3 separate regions of the Homo sapiens genome follow, and all the other regions are linked to region 3. The links are contacts of gene promoters, found by promoter capture Hi-C in human tissues and cell types (Jung and others, 2019). All regions are on one chromosome and are shown on one strand. The core of a region is centred on a gene start or on the middle of the fragment in contact, and the rest is flanking DNA. Distances in the headings are between cores, read along the strand shown.

Evidence for each region. Contacts are between HindIII fragments. The study calls those that stand out against the background at their distance.
Region 1: a contact is called between a fragment that was not itself captured here and the fragment with the promoter of RASGRF2 in region 3, in 2 of the 25 tissues and cell types used here (hippocampus and mesenchymal stem cells).
Region 2: a contact is called between a fragment that was not itself captured here and the fragment with the promoter of RASGRF2 in region 3, in 1 of the 25 tissues and cell types used here (hippocampus).

Annotation. Positions count from the first base shown.
Region 1 is chr5:80,685,372-80,688,476 of GRCh38, forward strand. The region is part of intron 8 of MSH3 (mutS homolog 3); the gene reads left to right. Among named protein-coding and RNA genes, the nearest start is that of DHFR, 32 kb to the left of the region's middle. The HindIII fragment of the contact is 8,779 bases long and covers 1-3,105 here.
Region 2 is chr5:80,663,220-80,666,784 of GRCh38, forward strand. MSH3 (mutS homolog 3) reads left to right here. Exons shown (of 24, transcript NM_002439.5): 3 at 1,924-2,144. Among named protein-coding and RNA genes, the nearest start is that of DHFR, 10 kb to the left of the region's middle. The HindIII fragment of the contact is 3,007 bases long and covers 242-3,248 here.
Region 3 is chr5:80,958,378-80,961,654 of GRCh38, forward strand. RASGRF2 (Ras protein specific guanine nucleotide releasing factor 2) reads left to right here and starts at 1,986. Exons shown (of 27, transcript NM_006909.3): 1 at 1,986-2,649. The coding sequence starts at 2,362. RASGRF2-AS1 (RASGRF2 antisense RNA 1) reads right to left here and starts at 2,530. Exons shown (of 4, transcript NR_105015.1): 1 at 2,404-2,530. RefSeq lists an enhancer at 2,089-2,810. The HindIII fragment of the contact is 17,436 bases long and covers 1-3,277 here.

The DNA of each region.
Region 1 (3,105 bases), core at 552-3,051, 270 kb before region 3:
GATTTCTTCGTGGTTCAATCTTGGTGGATTGTGTGTGTTTAGGAATTTATCCATTTCTTCTAGATTTTCGGATTTATTGGCATATGGTTGCTCATAGTAACCACTAATGATCCTTTGAATTCCTGTAGTATCAGTAGTAATGTCTTCTTTCTCATCTCTAATTTTGTTTATTTGGGGTTTCTCTCTTTTTTCACAGTCTGGGAAAGTCTTACCAATTTTATCTTTTCAAAAAACTAACTTTTGGTTTGTTGATCTTTTGTATTTTCTTTGTTTCAGTTTCATTTATTTCTGCTCTGATTTTTATTTTTATTTTATATTAATTTTGGGTTTGGTTTGCTCTTGCTTTTCTAGTTCTTCAAGGTTTATCATTTGGTTATTTATTTGAAATGTTTCCTCTTTTTTCATGTAGGTGCTTTTAGCTATAAACTTCCCTCTTAGTACAGCCGTCACTGTATCACATAGGTTTTGGTATGTGTTTTCATTATCATTTGTTTCAAGAAATTTTTAAATTTCCTTGTTGATCTCTTCATTGACCCACTGGCCATTCAGGAGCATATTGTTTAATTTCCATGTGTTTGTATAGTTTCCAAAATTATTCTTGTTTTCGATTTCTAGTTTTATTTCATTGTGGTCAGAGAAGATTCTTGATATTATTTCAGTTTTTTGAATGTTTTAAGACTTGTTTTGTGACCTAACATATGATCTAATCTCGAGAATGTTTAGATCATTCATGCTATAATGATCAGATCCTCTACATGCTGAGGAAAAGAAAGTGTATTCTGCAACCATTGAATGAAATGTTCTCTAAATATCTATTAGGATCATTTGGTCTGTAGTAAAGATTAAGTCTGACGTTTCTTTATTGATTTTCTGTCTGGAAGATCTGTCCAATGATGAAAGTGGGGTGTTGAAGTATCCAGCTGCTATTTTTTTTCTCTCTCTTTTTTTTGAGACAGAGTCTTGCTCTGTCACCCAGGGGGCAGTGCAGTGGCATGATCTCAGTACACTGCAACCTCTGCCTCCCGGGTTTAAGCGATTCTCGTGCCTCAGCCTCCCGAGTAGCTGGGATTACAGGCGTGCACCACCACGCCTGGCTAATTTTTTTTGTATTTTAGTAGAGACAGGATACGGGGTTTCACCATGTTGTCCAGGCTGGTCTCGAACTCCTGACCTCAAGTGATCCGCCTGCCTCAGGCATGTATATTTACAATTATCGTATCCTTTTGCTGAATTGACCCCTTTGTCATTATATAATGACCTTCTTTGTTTCCATATTTACAACCAGTAAACAATACAGTATTAAATTTGCAAGTACAAAATTTGTTTTGTTTTTGGTGATATCTTCTTGTCTGTTTTAAACACTGGTAAGTAGTTTCTTGTATCTCAGACTAAGTACCCCATTTTTTTCTTATGCTATATACCTAAAGGTAAAAACAGCAGTTTTTGTCAGTTACTGGTTAATAATATTTTATTAATTTTGAAGACATAATATGTTAAAGCTGTGTGAGGAAAGGCAAAAGAATGGCTTGGAATTGTGGAGTGTCTATCTTAAAATATTAGGGTTTTTGGTATTCTTAACTTTAACCACAAGAGGTCTCCAAAGGATTTGATATTTTGTGAATTACTGTTTAATGGTTACTAAAATCTTCACATTTCTTTTTATATCTGAAAGTACAGGTTTATTTACTTTGTATCATATTGTGACTTAGAACAAATATTAGAGATGATAGTAATCTAAAATTATTACTCCTAAATAATGATACACTATCAATTTTTCTTAGATTATTTATTTTTATTTATGTAAAGTATGTTTGTAAGATTTCAGCCTGTGTCTTAGGGAATCAGTCTTACTATCTTGTTACACTTTCTTTTGTTGTAAAAATGTAGAGAAAGAAACAAATGGAAAGCAATAGTCTCGAGCCCTTTATCAATTGCAGTTAAGGTTGCTTTAGCTTAGAAATGTTGTATGTTTATAGAAATGGTTGAGAGGAAAGCTTTAGAAAGCGATAAACAAATAATATTTACTAGTTCTCAAGGAAACTGACTTTTCAGGTGAATCAGGTGAACATCACAAATGACACTCAATTTTGCGTTCAAAGAAATGAGAGCTTCCTGAGCACTGGCATAGCCAAGGAAGGCTGTATGAAGGAGGTGGGGTAGGCTGGTACATTTGCAGAATAGAAGGCTTTGAGTTGGTAATGGGGAGGGGGGAAGGGTATGTTGTGTGTGTATGGAAATGATATGAGGTCTGAGGCACACAGGCTGGAAATATTAGAGAAGTGTGAAGACAGAAGGGAGATTTCTCTGATTAGAGGGAACTTTCATGTTGAGAATTGAGAAAGAAAGGGTGAAGGCCTATGAAATCCAGCAAACTGGTATGGATTCCTGTAGAAGGCAGTAAGGTTTCTGGGAAAAGGAATGGCATGATAGAAGGGAAGAGATGAGTGTACTGCCTAGATGGGACAGTTGAATTTTAAAAATAAATATTTCCCTAAAGGAAAAAGCGGATACAGAGAAAAGAATCAGATCAAGGAGCTTAGAGAATGCCAATAGTTGGGAATAGGAGCAAGAATACAAACAGAAGGGGAGGAATTAAAGAGCTAGGTGGAGAACCAGGACAAGGTAGGGATGTGTAGTTATAATTTGTCACACGTGGTATAACCAATGATGTGAGCTAATTTTTTACATTATTGACTCTGTTATAGTTTACTGAAACTGTATGACATTCAGAAAGATACTTGGTTAAAAACTAGCCTTAGCTCATTGATATCATTTGAAAAAGACATGTGGAAGAATGTCCTGTGGTACCACAGTGACTTTAGCTATCTGACCTTTGAAATAAATGCTTGAACACATAAGTGCTTCCTCAAAGATAGATGTGTATGCTGCAGATTTAAAGAAAACATTGAAATCTTAATGTTGGGGAATAAGAATAACCTCTACTATGTTTACTTTCAGTGTTAGAAATACCTTATTATTATGTCTTTTTGGCCACAGAGAGCCTTACATCATCTGAGGTTTAACCAAAAGTATTATCTAACATGATTCTTTATGCGGAGGCATAGTACCACCTGAATGTCACTTATGGTGACACGTGTTTGAAAT
Region 2 (3,565 bases), core at 495-2,994, 300 kb before region 3:
TTGGAAAATTTGGAGTAACTGGCAAGCTCTGATTAGTGAATGACTGCAATGGGTAAAACTAGCCATAGAGTCACAGCAGGTTGTTTTAGCAGCTATCAGGTAAAATTGGTTTCAGGTTACAGTAGGCAGTTTCAGCAGCTAGGCTTGCAGAGAATTACATTTTTGGAGCAATGATATGTGCTCTCAGTGCTTTTTCCCCTGGCCTCTCTACTCCATTTCAATTGAGTATGACAAGAATGACCCAATTTATATGATCAACTTTCACAATACTTTTTTTTTTTTTCCCAGCAAATACAACTCCAAGATCTTCATCCCACTTTCATTCCAGGCAGTTTTTTTTTATGTCTATAGGAGGGAAACTCTTTGTATAACATACACACTTATAGTATATTTTTGAAGAGCGATACAAATATACATTTCAAAAAAGAGAGTAATAGTAAACAAGGTGAATATACATTTGAGAAAAGAGTCAAATTTAAATTTTTGTGGCTAGAAAATTCACAGGAGATCTAATGAAAGCCTGTGAAGAGGTTTAAATATAAATAGGGAAAATTTTAAACTATTTTTTTTGAAGCAACAAAAGCAGAGATTTATTGGAAACAAAAAGTACACTCCACAGGGTGGGAGTGGGCCCTAGCAAGCAGCTTGGGAGCAATTTTAAACTTTTAGAAATGAACAAAACACAACTCTTGCCCTCAGAGTGTTTTTGCTTTAATAGGGAAGGTAAGAGGTGATAAATGTGTGCAGTCCCAGTTCCTTTACATTTAATAGCACCAACCTAATAGTAGTGCTCTAAACGGTGAAATACTGTGTTCTAGTACATGGTAGGGATCCAGAAAATGATAGTTTCCCTTCTTTTATGGATTGCTTGTTTATGAAAAACTGCCAATTGGCAGACTGTGATGAGTGCCACAGGGAGATGTGATCTTGTTAGAGGAACACAGAGAAAGAAAAGATGATTTTAAGCTGTGAAAATTAGCAGAAGGTTTTATGGGAAAGGTAGATTTGAGATGGGTCTTGAAGAATGAATACAATTTTGACATGCAGAAAGCATATCATGGGCAAAGTGATGGTGTTTCTGAGTATGGTGATTTGGTTTTCTTGGTAAACCCCTGATGTCAATATCAAGTCTTTCCGCTTGAGCTAGTAAGATTTCCCAGTCAAGAGTCCTCCCAGCTTCTGCCTGGAGGGGAGTAGGAGTGCTCTGGCTTCCTGGGTTCTGGAGAGGCCGTGGATCTCAGCATACATTGTGTCTGTGTTCCTAATCGTCCTTCTGGGTTAGGTACAGTACTCCATCAACTGTGCTTGTTTTGCCTTTCCAGGGAAGAAATCTCCAGTTGGCTGCTGATGTGGAGGAAGGACAGTTGTCTTTGAGCTTGGAGTATGGTAGGGGTTTAGGGAACAAATTGCTTTGAACCAATCCTCTTTATTTTAGAACCTCCCTTTATTCCTTTCCAGAGCTACTGGTACTCTAATTCCTGAGTCTTTTGAGCATTTTGTGTTGTAATTAGAGTTGGCTCTTGGTTTTCCTAATTACTGACTTAGTATTTAGCTCTCAGGTGTGCTGAATTGGTTACTGTTCATTTGTTTTCCTTTCTAGCTTTAGATATCTCATTTGCAGTTGTTACCTCTCCTCTCTGTCCTTATGGGCTTATGTCTTCAAAAAAAAACAAAAACAAAAAAGAAAAAAAACCTCTACTATAGTAATGAGGTTTCAGGAATGAGTGAAATTGCATCTGTGTTTAATATGCCATCTTTACCCTGAACCCAGTGTTTCTTTCTTTTTTTAAAAAAATCACATTATAGTTAGATTCATTGCTTTATTGGGAATCTACCTCTTTAAAAAATTCTATGCTGGTTATGAATTGACATAATGAGACCAAAATTACTATTGTTCTGTTTTCTTCTTATTTGCTGCCTAAGAGCCAAAGAAATGTCTGAGGACCAGGAATGTTTCAAAGTCTCTGGAAAAATTGAAAGAATTCTGCTGCGATTCTGCCCTTCCTCAAAGTAGAGTCCAGACAGAATCTCTGCAGGAGAGATTTGCAGTTCTGCCAAAATGTACTGATTTTGATGATATCAGTCTTCTACACGCAAAGAATGCAGTTTCTTCTGAAGATTCGAAACGTCAAATTAATCAAAAGGTATGTAACTGCTATAGATGAGTATCCAGTTACCTAGAATAGTGGGTTCTGAAGTACTGTCAGGTTCTCTGAGGTCATTCATGGCAATGGTTCCTAAACTTGGATGGTCTTCTGAATCATCTGAGGGAGCTTTTGTGTTTTAGTTTAGTTTTCTTACATCCCTGGAGATTCGATTTACTGTGTTTTGGGAGGGATTAATTGGTTTGTATGGGAACAAAACAAAAGCCTTCCAGGTAATTCTGAGGTATTGCCTGGATCAGGAGCCCTTGACTTGGAGGGATTCTTTATTGAGAATTAATACAAGCACAGTTTCTTACAGTCTTCCTTAGAGTTTCCATGATTACCGTGGAAAATCATGATGGGCAACTTAGATATTTTGAGGTTTCAGTTGAAAGCTTGATAGATAGAAAGTAAATTCAAATGTAAGCCAAATGAACATGGGCTTTTTACTTTATCCACTATTTGTTTTGAGACTTTTAATGGTTTTCATAACTGCAGAATCAGGGAATTTAACTCATGCTCCATCATTGAAATCTGTAATTCAGAATAGTGATTGGTTCGCAACCTTAGCTTTACATTGGAATCACCTGGAGAACTTCAAACAAAAATTGCCATTAAGAACCTTCCCTCAGAATCTTATCTAATTGGTTTTCACTGACAAATGGGCATGGATATTTTTTAAAAGTTTACATTTTATTTTGTATTTTATTTTTATTGATGGAGTCTTGCTCTGTTGTCCAGGCTAGAGTACAGTTGTGCGATTATAGTTCACTGTAGTCTCAAACTTCTGGTCTCAAGCAATCCTCCCACCTTAGCCTGCAGATGAGGTGAGACTAAAGGAAAAGCAGTCATTTTAATCTGTAGCTGTGATTGACAACCATTGAATTAGAGAAATGGTTCTATATATGTATATGTATGTGTGTATGTATATATATGAGTCATTGAAATTCTAATGAAAGCTGTTGGCCTTTTTCTTCAGAAAAATTCTCAAGCCAACAAAATTTTGCCTATAATTTTCAAGATTTCACACCTTTCCCACAAAGCCCAGATCCATGAACTCCTCCCTCAGCCAGGCTAATATTGATTGACTTATCTTAGATCATCAAGAAAAAAAAGGTGTTTTTGTTTTTAGTCTCTTTTAATACTTAGAAGCAGTTCACCTAAGTATAGTGGTTATTAAGCATAGAAGTCATAAAGTTTATCCATTAAAGCTCACTTTATTGATAGGAGCATTTACTCCAAGGTCTCAGAAGAGCGTATACATTATTGCTTTATACATAGAATGACCAACTTGGCATGTCCACATCACAGGAAATTAGAAGTAAGTAGACAGAGGGGGCACGTAGAAGCAGTGCCATTATTACAGGTGATAAGCTGTTTGATGGCATGGATAGACGTGGATGAATGGCAAAAAGCTACTG
Region 3 (3,277 bases), core at 736-3,235:
TTACTGGTTTCTACTAAAAAAATGGAGCTTATCAACCACACAGGTGTCTACTCACTTACGGTTCTCACAGCTGGGATTGGACCACAGAGAAAGAAATAAAAGGCCTCCTGAGGCAATCACCAGCTCCTCTGCATCTAGAATCTGGCTCCAAAATGTTGCCTGCATTTACTTACTGTCTCTGTACTTGTGTCTTCTCTGAAGAACAATGCAAACTTCCAGCTGGGTTAAACCCAATTTAGCACAGCACTGTCCTTTAGATATTTTTAAAAACGTAAAGAGAAATGACCACTGTTCTCACGCTGTAATTTCAAAATGGCAATTTCCCTACTATATACTTGTTAAAAGTGAAAATTTTTTAAAAAGGTAAAAGGAAAAAAAAACCCCACTCAGCTGCTCAGTGAGGCAGAGTTAAAATATTCTGCAGAAACAGCACTTATGAAACAGGCAGAACCCCTGGGGCTACCAATTCATGAACACACAACTGGCAGTACAAGACAGGTGTATTGTCGTAGACTCATCACCCAGAAAAGCATTATTATTTACTTTTAACAATAAACATTTTATGATGGCACTCCGTTTTAGTGATAAATGACTGGGGAAAATAAAAAATGTGTATAGCAGAATCAAATATAGGCCCTCCCCGGGGGTTTCACTGGCTTTCTCTCACAGCTGCTGGCTACATTATTTCTTTTCCACTTACATTTTTACAGCATGGGGTTGGGGCGGGGGGGTGGCTCTTGGTTTTCTGGTTGTACCTGTCAGATTTGTTAATCAAATGAATCCAGTCCTACAAACGATGAGCCTGTGACAGCTGGCCTTTGGGGTTGGATTCTGCCCTGGGCAGCAAAGTGTCCCTTATTTGGGTATTTTTTTCCAGGTTGAAAACTCGGCACTTAAAATTTAGCATCTTACCACTGTGAAATAACAGGCATTCCGAAAGAACTTCGGCATCTGATGCCTTTCCGGGAACACTTGGGCCACTCTCCTTAACCTTTACCGGCAGTTTTAAATACTACAATGCAGGTACAAGCAGAAAAGCCAAGGATGCGGGCTATGCAAAGCCACTCTGTGACTCTACCTACTGCCATGGGAACGTACTTATGGATGTGGCATGTGAGTGTGTGTGTATGTGTGAGTGGGTTTGTGAAAGTGTGTGGATTCGTGCGAATACGTGTGTGAGTGCTTTGTGTGTATTTTTGGATGAATTTGTGAATGTACATGTGTGTTCATCTGTGTGTGTGTTTGATTATCTGCTTATGAGTCTGTATGATTGTGAACGTGTGAGTATATGTGTGCTGTTTGTGTGACTGTATGAGTGTAATGTGTGTATGAATGTATGTTTGAATGTGGGTTTGAGTGAATGTGTGGGTTGTGTGTGAATGTGTGTGTAAGTGAGCATATCACTGCGTGCATGTGTGTAGCTCCTTAAGTGTGTATCTGAATGTGGGTTTTATTTTTGTGCGCGGGAACGCACATTGTGGGTGTATTTGTCTATATGCATTTGTGCGTTGTGACTGTGTGTTGAGTGTGAGCGTTGTGAGAATGTGTATTTGTGTGTCATGAGTGTGTGCGCGTGTGTTTTTGTGCATATGTGCGCGCATTGTGTTTGTGTGCATTTGTGAGTGTATTTTTGTGCGTCTGAGTGTGTGCATTGTGGATCTGGGTGAATGTACTGGTCTGCGTGTGTGTGGGTGTGCGTGTGTGTGTGCGCGCGTTGTGCGCGAGTGTGCGAGCGCGTGTGAGCGGGTGTGTGGTGCGGCCGGGCGCCTCCACCTCCCTGATCCGCCCCATCCCGGCGGGCGCCCGAGCAGAGGCAGCGGCCCGGGCCGGGGCGGGCGAGGGAGGGACGCGAGCCGGGGCAAGCGGGCTGCGCCACCGCCGGCGCCGCGCCGACTTTGCCCTTTAAATCGGTCTCCAAGCCGATTACAGCTGAGCTCCCACGTGACGTTTTACCTTCTGTCTCCCGGAGCGCGTTGCCCGAGGACAGTCCTTCCCCGGCTGCCGCCCCAGCCCGCCGCGGGGGCTCGGCTCCCGCAACTTTGGGCGAAGCGGCGGCCGGCTCGGGCGCCCTCGCGGGGCCGCGCTCCACGCGGGCGTTGGGGGCTTGGGGGGCTCCGGGGGCTCGGCCGGGAGGGTGGTGGTTAGGGCGGAGAGCGTGCCTCGGCCCCAGCCCGCGCCCCTGCCACCGCGCGCCGCGGCCTCCCGAAAGCGGGCGGGGTGCCCTGCGCGCGGCGTGGGGAAAGGGGGCGCCCTTCGCCGGCCGGGACCTGAGCGGTCGCGCCCTCGAGGGAGCCAGCTGGGCCATGGCCGCGAGGCAGGGGTGAGACCGGCGGCCACCCGTGAGCCCTCCGCACCCGCACCATGCAGAAGAGCGTGCGCTACAACGAGGGGCACGCCCTGTACCTGGCCTTTCTGGCGCGCAAGGAGGGCACCAAGCGCGGCTTCCTGAGTAAGAAGACGGCCGAGGCGAGCCGCTGGCACGAGAAGTGGTTCGCCCTCTACCAGAATGTGCTCTTCTACTTCGAGGGCGAGCAGAGCTGCCGCCCGGCGGGCATGTACCTCCTGGAGGGCTGCAGCTGCGAACGAACGCCCGCGCCACCCAGGGCCGGCGCCGGGCAGGGAGGCGTCCGAGACGCGCTGGACAAGCAGGTACCGCGCGCCTTCTCTCCGCGGTCTCCCAGCCTTGATCGCCGCACTCCCTTGCCGTCCTAATCCGGGGATCAGGGGTCGGGGGTCGTGAAAGAGTGCGGGGACTATGCTCCGAAATCCCCCCGCGTCACCAGTGGCGGGACATCTCCACGCTCCTTCCGATCTTCATCCAGGGATTCTCCCATCTCCATACCCCTCCACCCCACTGCCAAGTGATCAGTCAGAATAGTGGCCCGACTTGCTTTCATTACCCTGGTAGAGGTCGAGTCGTTTCAGCTTCTCTGCCAACCATCTATTGCTTCTCTAGACCTGGCTCGCCAGATTTTTGTCTGGTGACATGTATTGACACCTGTTGGGTGTAGATTGGCAAGACGGAACTAACTTATTTGGAAAAGTTTGATTTCTGCCATACCCGGCTGGCGCGTGTAGATTTCTTTGCCTGCAGATGTTTGACCACTGGTTGGGCTGGGAACAAGCGGGGCTCCCAAGCCGGACAGACACTTTCTGTTGGTCATTTTCAATCAGTCTTTGTGATTTCGGTCAGTTGGCCTTGCTAACATTTGACCTGCTGGGTGTAATTATGAAGGTAAATGTGTATTCATATTCCTCAGGATTAATATTTGGTAGC